Linked DNA regions of Homo sapiens: regions 2 and 3 are each linked to region 1. The links are contacts of gene promoters, found by promoter capture Hi-C in blood cells and fetal thymus (Javierre and others, 2016). All regions are on one chromosome and are shown on one strand. The core of a region is centred on a gene start or on the middle of the fragment in contact, and the rest is flanking DNA. Distances in the headings are between cores, read along the strand shown.

Evidence for each region. Contacts are between HindIII fragments. The CHiCAGO score rates a contact against its expected background, and 5 or more counts as called.
Region 2: a contact is called between a fragment that was not itself captured here and the fragment with the promoter of DPEP3 in region 1, in 1 of 17 cell types (naive B cells). The highest score is 5.1, in naive B cells.
Region 3: a fragment that was not itself captured here is called in contact with the fragment with the promoter of DPEP3 in region 1 in 1 of 17 cell types (fetal thymus); the score reaches 5.3 in fetal thymus.

The regions. Positions count from the first base shown.
Region 1 is chr16:67,978,656-67,982,176 of GRCh38, forward strand. DPEP3 (dipeptidase 3) reads right to left here and starts at 1,844. Exons shown (of 10, transcript NM_001370198.1): 1 at 1,439-1,844; 2 at 984-1,110. The coding sequence starts at 1,725. RefSeq lists an enhancer at 1,168-1,668. The HindIII fragment of the contact is 6,110 bases long and covers 1-3,521 here.
Region 2 is chr16:67,503,939-67,507,459 of GRCh38, forward strand. It overlaps ATP6V0D1-DT (ATP6V0D1 divergent transcript), which reads left to right. Exons shown (of 4, transcript NR_184227.1): 4 at 87-2,465. Among named protein-coding and RNA genes, the nearest start is that of AGRP, 22 kb to the left of the region's middle. RefSeq lists an enhancer at 790-899. The HindIII fragment of the contact is 2,646 bases long and covers 241-2,886 here.
Region 3 is chr16:68,338,414-68,341,934 of GRCh38, forward strand. It overlaps PRMT7 (protein arginine methyltransferase 7), which reads left to right. Exons shown (of 19, transcript NM_019023.5): 8 at 909-1,150; 9 at 1,375-1,555. Among named protein-coding and RNA genes, the nearest start is that of PRMT7, 29 kb to the left of the region's middle. The HindIII fragment of the contact is 1,178 bases long and covers 1,313-2,490 here.

The DNA of each region.
Region 1 (3,521 bases), core at 594-3,093:
GGCCAGGGCGGTCTTCAACCCCCTAGGCCTGCCACTCCTGCCTCAGACCCCATAACACCCATTTGGGTCAGTGGCCCCAAGTGAGGCACTACATGACTCCATGGTACCTTGATGACTTTTTTTAAAATTATTTTTTATTTTTATTTTAAAATTTGAGACAGGGTCTTGCTCTGTCACCCAGGCTAGAGTGCAGTGGTGTGATCATGGCTCACTGCAGCCTTGACCCCCCAGGCTCAAACAATCCTCCTGCCTCAGCCTCCCAAAGTGTTGGCATTACAGATGTGAACTACCGAGCCTGGTTCCTTGATGACTGTTTGCTGCCAGCAGTCAAATGATGGACTCACGACACATCATAAATTACTGTTACGGCCAGGCCAAGTGGCTCATGCCTGTAATCTCCACACTGTGGGAGGCCGAGGAGGGTGGATCATGTGAGGTCAGGAGTTCGAGACCAGCCTGGCCAACATGGTAAAACCCTGTCTCTACTAAAACTACAAAAATTAGCAGGGCGTGGTGGCGAGTGCCTGTAATCCCAGCTACTCAGGAGGCTGAGGCAGGGAGAATTGCTTGAACCCGGGAGGCGGAGGTTGCAGTGAACCGAGATCGTGCCACTGTACTCCAGCCTGGGCGACAGAAGGAGACACTGTCTCAAAAATGCAAACAAACAAACAAGCAAAAAACTGCTGTTAGTCCATGTGCTATGTGAATGCCCCAAGGCCAATCCACTATGTCCTTTGTGGTTACGGCAGACCCCACACTCACCAGGGATTTTCTGGTCATTTTCTGCGTGTTTCCACAGAACCTGGGCATACATGCAGCTAGCCTGTCTTGGCCTCCAAGGCCCCACTCTCCTTAGAAACCACATGATGGCACACTGCATGCCCCATTGTATTTAGTCACCCAGAGGCTGGCTGACCCAGGTTTCTGTGACCCCAACATCCCCCAGCAGCCATGCTGTGGCACCCTGTGTGTCCCTGTGGTACCTGGGCACCCACGAGGCCGTCTCTAAGCCTGTCCAGGCTGGTCTGACCATGGCTGAAATTTCGCAGGTTAACATCCTGAAGCACATTCTTGTAACGCTGTCTCAGGACCTGGGGCAGGTCATTGTGGCTGGGGGTGTGAAGGTCAGATGGAAACACCGCCTCCAGATCAGTCAGGATATATCAGGTGCTTGGGTCTACCCTCCTCCACCCCACCAGGCACCTCCTCACACAGACCATATAGAGACCTCCTGAGGTTGGGTTGGAGGGAGGGGGTTAGATTCCACCAGGAATGGAGTAATGCGGGGAAGGGCACCCATGGGTGATGGAGGAGAGAGGGCATCCAGGGGTGGTGTGAGGGAGCCTCCTTGATAGCCTCCTTGATAGCATGCTCAGAACCTCCTCTCCTGCCCAAGGGTGTGCTCACCCCGCGTTGCCCAAACGCTGCACCTACATACCCGTCCACGAGTGGGAAACTCCGCATCAGGGCCTGCGCGCGACCCCGAAGGTCCAGGGTTTTGGGGGTGCCTGGCGTAGTGAGGCCTGGGGTAGTGAGGGCGCTGGGGACACCCGGCGTGGTGAAGAGGCTGGGGGAGCCCAGCGTGGAGAGGGCTCTGGGGGCGCCCGGCGTGGTCTCCGCGCGGGTTACGGGCTGCCGCAGCAGCAGCAGCAGTAGCAGGAGCAGCAGACGCCGCAGATACCGCCGGCTGAGCGCGCGGGAACCCTCGCGGCCCGTGGGCTGCATGTTGCGCGGGGGTCGGCCGCGGGAGCCTGGGAGGAGCAGGCGATGGGCAGAGGCCGACAATGGGGTCCGGATCATGACGACCCAGCCTCCCGAAGAGGGGGTTGAAGTCACGCGACTCTGAGACCGACGCGCCACGCAAGGGGGCGCCACGGCTTTTCCGCCCCCAAGCAGGAGAGCGCCCCCATGGGCCGGAACCGCCGCTGCAGCGTCGAGGACTCCTCGCCCTTCCACCCCCAGCGCTGGCTCCGTAGACCCCCACACGAGTGGGGGAGGAGGCCAGGCAGGGAACTAGTAGGGGCCCAGGGATCTTCCTGATCTCACCTCCTACCCAGGCCCACGTGGCGGTTAGCTGCCGGCTTGTGCCCAGCTCCTAGGCAGGTCAAATATTCTAAGCTGCGACTCAGAAGAGTTAATTCGGTCTGTCTGGTTTGATGGACAGAAAGATTCCCTATAGGTATTTCATTTCATTTCATTTCATTTCATTTCATTTCATTATTTCATTTCATCTCATTTCAGTTTTGAGACGGAGTTTGGGTCTTGTTGCCCAGGCTGGAGTGCAATGATGCAGTCTCGGCTCACTGCAACCTCCACGTCCCGGGTTCAAGCCATTTTCCTGCCTCAGCCTCCCGAGTAGCTGGGATTACAGGTGCCCGCCACCATGCCCAGCTAATTTTTGTATTTTCAGTAGAGATGGGGTTTTACCATGTTGGCCAGGCTGGCCTTGAACTCCTGACCTCAAGTGATCCTCCTGCCTCGACCTCCCAAAGTGCTGGGATTACAGGCGTGAGCCACCGTGCCCGGCCCCGAAAATGAAATTTAAGAACAATTTTTGTTGGGGATCATTATTTTAGCTTTTTTTCCTTCTCCAAGAGACAGAGTATCTGTCACCCAGGCTGGAGTTGCAGTGGGGTGATCATAGCTTGCTGCAGCCTTGATCATAGCTTGCTGCAGCCTTGAACTTCTGAGCTCAAGCGATCCTCCTTCCTCCACCTCCCAAGTAGCTGAGACTATAGGTGCAGTGCCACCATGCATGGCTAATTGTTATTTTTTATTTTATTAAAACAAATTTTTTTTTGAGACAGGGTCTCACTGGAGTGCAGTGGCACCATCTCAGCTCACTGTAGCCTCGACCTCCCAGGTAAAAGTGATCCTCCTGCTTCAGCTCCCTAAGTAGCTGGGAGGGACTACAGGCATGCACCACCATGCCCAGCTAATTTTTGTATATTTGCATTTTTTTTTAGAGACAGGGTTTTACCATGTTGCCCAGACTGGTCTTGAACTCCTGAGCTCAAGCGATCTGCCCACCTAGGTCTCCCAAAGTGCTAGGATTACAGGCATGAGCCACCACGTCCGGCCTTATTTCTTTTTTAGAGACGTGGTTTTTTTTTTGAGACGGAGTCTCACTGTGCCACCCAGGCTGGAGTGCAGTGGCTCCATCTCTGCTCACTGCAAGCTCCGCCTCCCGGGTTCATGCCAGTCTCCTGCCTCAGCCTCCCGAGTAGCTGGGACTACAGGCGCCCACCACCATGCCCAGCTAATTTTTTGTATTTTTAGTAGAGACCGGGTTTCACCGTGTTAGCCAGGATGGTCTTGATCTCCTGACCTCGTGATCCGCCCACCTTGGCCTCCCAAAGTTCCGGGATTACAGGCGTGAGCCACCGCACCGGGCCGAATATTTTTTTCTATATATATGTTAGTATACAGACACAAAAATGAGAGGTGACAGCGTGCTGGCAGCCCTCACAGCCCTCGCTCCCTCTCGGCACCTCCTCGGCCTTGGCGCCCACTCTGGCCGC
Region 2 (3,521 bases), core at 314-2,813, 470 kb before region 1:
CTCCTGCGTGCTGCTGGGAGGCTAGGCCTGACTGTCATTGCTCTACGGCCACATCCCCAGCCACGCTCTTCTTTTTCTTCTTTCAGCCAGAGGGAGCCCTGAATTCATGCAGAGGAGTTTTTCTACCTTCCATCTGCTTCTGCATATCATCTTGTCTACTTAATGCCCCTCCTTCCGGATTTATAGAACAGTATGCATAATATGACCCCAACTGCATTCCAAAAAATAGATGTAGATGTAAGCTTAGAGATGCAAAGAAACTTTTTGAGAGAATTCACTATGCTTCTCGCGGGTGGTGACACAGTTCAAGGAGGTTCCATGGGGTGTAATGTTTATCTTTCTCTTTTGTCCTTCTGATCATTGAAATGATGCTTTGTGTGTGTGAACATGTATTACTTTTATAATTAAAATAGAAAAATTAATTTGAATGGGACAAATGCTCGAAGTCAAAGTCACCTGTTATAACTGCTGTCACTAACAGGGCAACTGTTTGAAAATGCTGCAGAAACATGAGAAATGTTCATGAAGTGACCCTGTGGAGGCTTCCGGTCACAGGATCATGTGAGCGCCACGATCACCCCAGGGGTGGAGCAGATGCTAAGTGTTCACCACACCCAATTCTCTTCCTGGACACACAGGAAGATGACATTTCCAGTGACATGCCCCACCTCTAGGCCCTAGTCTTTTTTTTATTTAAAGGTCTGAGTCTTGTTCTGTCACCCAGGCTGGAGTGCAGTGCTGTGATCATGACTCACTGCAGCCTCAACCTCCTGTGCTCAAACAATCCTCCCACCTCAGCCTCCCTAATAGCTGATGTCATATAGGCATGAGCCAGTGTGCCTGGCTCAGGCCCTACCCTTAAAAGCATCCCACCTGATTCACCAGCCCCCTTCTCTCTCTCAGTAAACTTGGAAACCACGCATTCCAGATGGTATAATTTACAGCATGATGGAAAAAGCCAGCTCTCCATGGGAAGCTGGCCAGTCTTCATTGGAGTACATTTTTATTGCATGAAGCCAATGAGACTTGATATTGTTTAACTCTGTGGTTTCCAAAGTGCGGTCCTTTTGAAGTATCCATAAAGTCTACACTAGGTTCACGGTAATATTAAGATGTTATTTGTCAGCTGGGCACGGTGGCTCACGCCTATAATCTCAGCACTTTGGGAGGCCAAGGCAAATGGATAATGAGGTCAGGAGTTTCAGACCAGCCTGGCCAACATGGTGAAACCCAGTCTCTACTAAAAATACAAAAATTACCTGGGTGTGGTGATGCATGCCTGTAATCCCAGCTACTCAGGAGGAGGCTGAGGCAGGAGAATTGCTTGAATCCGGGAGGCAGAGATTGCAGTGAGCTGAAATCTCACCACTGCACTCCAGCCTGGGTGATGGAGCAAGACACTGTCTCAAAAAAAAAAAAAAAGATATTATTTGTCTTTCATGAGTGTACAGTGGGATTTTCCAGAGGCTACATGACATGTGTTTTTTTATTTTGTTTTTTATACTGACAGAGGGGTCTTGCTATGTTGCCCAGACTGGTCTTCCAACTCCTGGCCTCAAGTGATCCTCCCGCCTTCACCTCCCAAAGTGCTGGGATTATAGGTGTGAGCCACTGCGCCTGGCTGTTTGTGACATGTGATGTTGAAACAGGTTGAGTATAGAAGCAGATATGGGAATTAAACCAGAATATTAAACCAGACATTGAAGAGATTTGCAAAAAATACAAAACAATACCACTGTTTTCACTTTCTTTTTGGTTTGGAAAAATGTAGTTATTTTTCATTAAAAGTATGTTGTGTTGGCTGGGCACAGTGGCTCATGCCTGTAATCTCAACGCTGGGAGACTGAGGTGGGAGGATCACTTGAGATCAGGAGTTCGAGACCAGCCTGACCAACATAATGAAACCCCATCTCTACTAACAATATAAAAATTAGCTGGGCTGGCTGAGCGCGGTGGCTCACGCCTGTAATCCCAGCACTTTGGGAGGCCAAGGCGGGCGGATCATGAGGTCAGGAGATCGAGACCATCCTGGCTAACATGGTGAAACCCCATCTCTACTAAAAATACAAAAAATTAGCTGGGCGAGGTGGCGGGCGCCTGTAGTCCCAGCTGCTCAGGAGGCTGAGGCAGGAGAATGGCGTGAACCCAGCGGGCAGAGCCTGCAGTGAGCAGAGATCGCGCCACTGCACTCCAGCCTGGGCGACAGCAAGACTCCGTCTCAAAAAAAAAAAAAAAAAATAACTGGGCTTGGTGGCATGCGCCTATAATCCCAGCTACTTGAGAGGCTGAAGCAGAAGAATTGCTTGCACCTGGGAGGGGCAGGTTGCAGTGAGCCAAGATCGCACCACTGCACTCCAGCCTGGGCAACAGAGCAAGACACCTTCACCTTCTCAAAAAAAAAAAAAGTTGTGTTAACATGTAATGGTTTCATGATATCATTTTAAATAAATTAATAAACATGTAAACATTTTCTCTGTTTTAATTTCTCACATGGTAAATATTAATGGTGTGAACCAAAAAGTGACTGAGGCATCTCAATCAATTTAGAGGTTTATCTTGCCAAGGTTGAGGACACGCCCGGGGAAAAAGAGACACAAGTCACAGTACGATCTGTGTCCTGTGCTTTTTCCAAAGAGGAAAGAGGCAGCAGGAGGGGAGGGAGGAAAGGGGAAAAAAGCGGGCAGGAGGGTAGGCAGGGCGGCAAGTGGTGACATTGTTGTGAGGCTGTGATTAGCAGCTCAGTGACTCTACATTTTATATGTGAAAAGGGGTCGGGGGAGTCAACTATGCATTGTCTCGGGCTTAGTAGATCTACATTTTACATAACTAAGCCTGTGAAATTACAGCTGTCCGTTTGGGAAAGGAAGGCAGTTTTTGTGGTTCCCAAGCTTAACTTTCCCTTTGACATAATGAGTTTGGGGTCCCAAGATTTTATTTTCCTTTCATAATAGATATAACCAACATGAACAAAATTCTTTAGAATCCTCAAAAATACTGAAGAGTGAAAAGACGTCATGAGACCAAAAGGTTTGAGACCCTTTGCTCTGTGACAGCTAGCCACCCTGGGACAGGCCGTTTCAATCTGGAAACACACATAGTACCTCAATTATGGGAAATTCTCTCTCTCTGTCTCTTTTTTTTTTTCTTTTGAGATGGAGTCTCGCTCTGTCACCCAGGCTGGAGTGCAGTGGCGCGATCTGGGCTCACTGCGACCTCCACCTCCCGCGTTCAAGTGATTCTCCCACCTCAGCCTCCTGAGTAGCTGGGATTACAGATGTGCACCACCACATCTAACTAATTTTTGTATTTTTAGTAGAGACGGGGTTTCACCATGTTGGCCAGGCTGGTCTCGAACTCCTGACCTCAAGTAATCCTCCCACCTTGGCCTCCCAAAGTGCTGGGATTACAGGCGTGAGCACGGCACCCGGTCCCTTTCACTTTACACTTTCCATTACTGTCATTTTGCTCTACTTCCTGGAGATTTCTTCAACTCTATTTCCAACCCTTATATTGAGTTTCTC
Region 3 (3,521 bases), core at 652-3,151, 360 kb after region 1:
GGTTTACACAGAGTTTGAGCTCTCTAAAGGTCAGCCAAGCAAAGAGGCCCAGAGATGCATGGATTTACTCAGTGAAGAGGGCATGGTTGAGGTCACTGTGGAGAGTGTGGAGGGAGACAGTCCGGACCAGGGAGTCCCCTTGTGAGGTGGGGCGGAGGAAGCACAGCCTGGGGAAGGCAGCGGGAGTGAGTCCAGTTAGAGCAGCATTTGTCTACCAGAGCAAGGTTGGGAGATGCTTCGCAGGGAGGCCAGTTATTCTGCTAGCCTTTTACCATGCCCAGAGCAACCCCTACAGCAGAGAATCATTTGGCCCAAGAGGCCAGTGGTGTCCTGGTGGTGAAAGCCATGTGGGTAGCAGCTGTGAGTGTGCTCTTGCCGGGTCCCTATTGCCTGGTGCATGGAGGACGTGGAGTGGATGCAAGAGGTAGGAGGAGAGCCGGACAAGGAGCCGGAGCCGGAGCCACAGCCCTAGGGGCTGAGTGTGCAGCAGTGCCCAGCGGCGCTAGAGGGCTGGGCAGCTGAGGGGGCACCGTGGTCCACAGGGCTTTGCCACAAGGAGGCTCTTGTTTTGGTGCTGGGCAGGAGCGGCACTGAAGGGACACTGAGCCCAGAGCCAGGATCACCACCCAGCAGCAGGACGTGAAGCATTTAAGAGTGCCAGGTAGCCAGGAACTTAGCTGACAGAAGTCATTTTAGGCACAGTGTGTGTTCTTTTTGAAATGTAGTACCCTTTTTTTCCCTTTTCCAAGGGCATAGGGCTGAAAACAGTTCACTATTCTAATAGTATAAGGTGTTGGGCATTACTGAACCAACCTAATGTTAAGGAATAAACCTCTTTTGATCAATGGGAATTACTGTGGGTCTAAGCATCTGATTTTTGTTTGGTTTTGTTTTTAATATAAACTTAGGAAAATTGTGAGGCCGTGCCCCACAGAGCCACCGTCTATGCACAGCTGGTGGAGTCCGGGAGGATGTGGTCGTGGAACAAGCTATTTCCCATCCACGTGCAGACCAGCCTCGGAGAGCAGGTCATCGTCCCTCCCGTTGACGTGGAGAGCTGCCCTGGCGCACCCTCTGTCTGTGACATTCAGCTGAACCAGGTGTCACCAGCCGACTTTACAGTCCTCAGCGATGTGCTGCCCATGTTCAGGTACCAAGGAGCCACCATAGGTGATGGCGCTTTGAGACATTTGATGGAAGTTGGGTATTAGGAGGTTCTTTTTGAGTGGGAAGGAAATCTAGCTGCTGTCACCTGCCTCGAAGGCAAGAGTCCTTTGCAGCCAAATGTCATTGCCAGTGAAGTCACTGTAAAAGCTTAAAAAATGGAGTGTGTGAGGTTAAACTCTGCTTACATTCTTGAATATTATTCCTCAGCATAGACTTCAGCAAGCAAGTCAGTAGCTCAGCAGCCTGCCATAGCAGGCGGTTTGAACCTCTGACATCTGGCCGAGCTCAGGTGGTTCTCTCGTGGTGGGACATTGAAATGGACCCTGAGGGGAAGATCAAGTGCACCATGGCCCCCTTCTGGGCACACTCAGACCCAGAGGAGATGCAGGTAAGAGGCAGGAGCCTAGCATGTGCCCTGTCAGGAAACTTGTCCACTGCTGTTCATGGGAAAGTAACAGTTGAGCCTTGGACCCAGGAGAATTTAGAGACAGGAGGGCTGTGTCAGAATCAAAGACAAAAGTTTTTAAAAAGCAAGCAAAGGCTAGCTGTAGTAACGTAGCCTTCCCAGGGTGAGCTCATGGTGAGCACTCATGGACACAGTGAGGAACAGAGAAGTTGGCTTTCCTCTCCCGCCTCATCATGATGCAGCCACCCTTAGATACCACCCCTCATCCCCTGAGTAATCCCAGGGGGCTCCCATCAGCTTGGAATAGAGAACTACAGCCTCACCTTCTGTGGCCTCAAAATCTCCTTTCTCCACCCCGATAGAAAGTAGGCAGAGGACATGAAACACAGAAAAGGAAATACAGATGATGGGGATAGTTGCCCACTGTCCCTCATAATAAGAGAAATGCAGTTTTAGCTGCTCACAGCACCTATGCTCCCAGCCTCTCAGGAGACTGAGGCAGGAGGGTTGCTTGAACCCAGGAAGTTGAGGCTGCAGTGAGTCGGGACTGCATTACTGCACTCCCGCCTGGGCAATAAGATGAGAACCTGTCTCTAAAAAAAAAAAAAAAGAGAAATGCAACTTTAAACTGCAATGAGATCTCATTTTCACCTACTAGTGAATAAAGTTTAAACAGTTTGCAAGCACACTGTTGGGGAAGCTCAGGGAAAAAGCAGGAAAGCGAGTCATCAGAACGTTTCAGGTAGAAAGCAATGCTGCTTTCAGACATGGGGCTGTGGCTGGATTTGCGTCTGTGCAGAATAGATGTGTGCAGCCCTGGTTTAGTAGAAAAAGGCCAACCTAAAGGCCACTAGCAGGGATCAAGTCCATTATCCTTTCAGTGGGTGAGGTAGCTCTCTGTGCACTGATGTGGGACAAGCTTCAGGGTGGATTATTACCTGACACAAAAATAAAGGTGCAGAATGGTGTGTTGTGTGGCAGCACTGGTGTTAGTAAAAATAGGAATATATGTGTTTGTGAGTGGATAGTCATGTGTGGTGTACATATAAGGAGGTCTTTGGAAGAATTCCCAGAAATTCGTAAAACTGACTGCATCTGGGAATGGGGACTGGAGGTTAGGGGTGGAAAGGAAACATATTTTTTACTATGCGTCCTTGTATACCTTTTGAATTTTCTCTCATGTGCTTGTGTTATTTACACCCCCATCCACCCTCTCTCACTCTCACACTCAAAGGAAAAGAAAGTGGGAAAGGTGTGTCGGAATTGCCTGATGGGTTCTTCCCACCCACTGTTCAGACAAAACCAATTCGCTGACACCATGGCATTGCAATAAAGACTTTAATTGACACGAAGCCAGCCACACCACGTGGGGGAGAGATTTGTTACTCAAATCAGTCTCCCTGAAAATTCACAGGCTACGGTTTTTTGTTTGTTTGTTTTGAGATGGAGTTTCGTTCTTGTTGGTCAGGCTGGAGTGCAATGGCGCGATCTCAGCTCACTGCAACCTCTACCTCCCGGGTTCAAGCAATTCTCCTGCCTCAGCCCCCTGAGTAGCTGGGATTACGGGCATGCGCCACCATGCCTGGCTAATTTTGTATTTTTAGTAGAGATGGGGTTTCTCCACGTTGGCCAGGCTGGTCTCAAATTCCCGACCTCAGGTGACCTGCCCCACCGGCCTCCCAAAGTGCTGGGATTACAGGCGTGAGCCGCTATGCCCGGCTCAGGCTAGGGTTTTTCAAGGATAGTTTGGCAGGCGAGGGAGTCCACTTCTGGGTGGAGTCATCAGACAGAAACGTAAAAACCCGAAAAGACATTTCAAAGGGTCAATCTTAGTTTCTGCAAGGTGGTGTTATCTGCAGGAGGAATCAGGGAAGGTTGCAGATCTTGTGACCTAACAATGGCTTCACCTTAGCAGAATTCAGCCTCCTCTCATCCTCCTAACCTGATG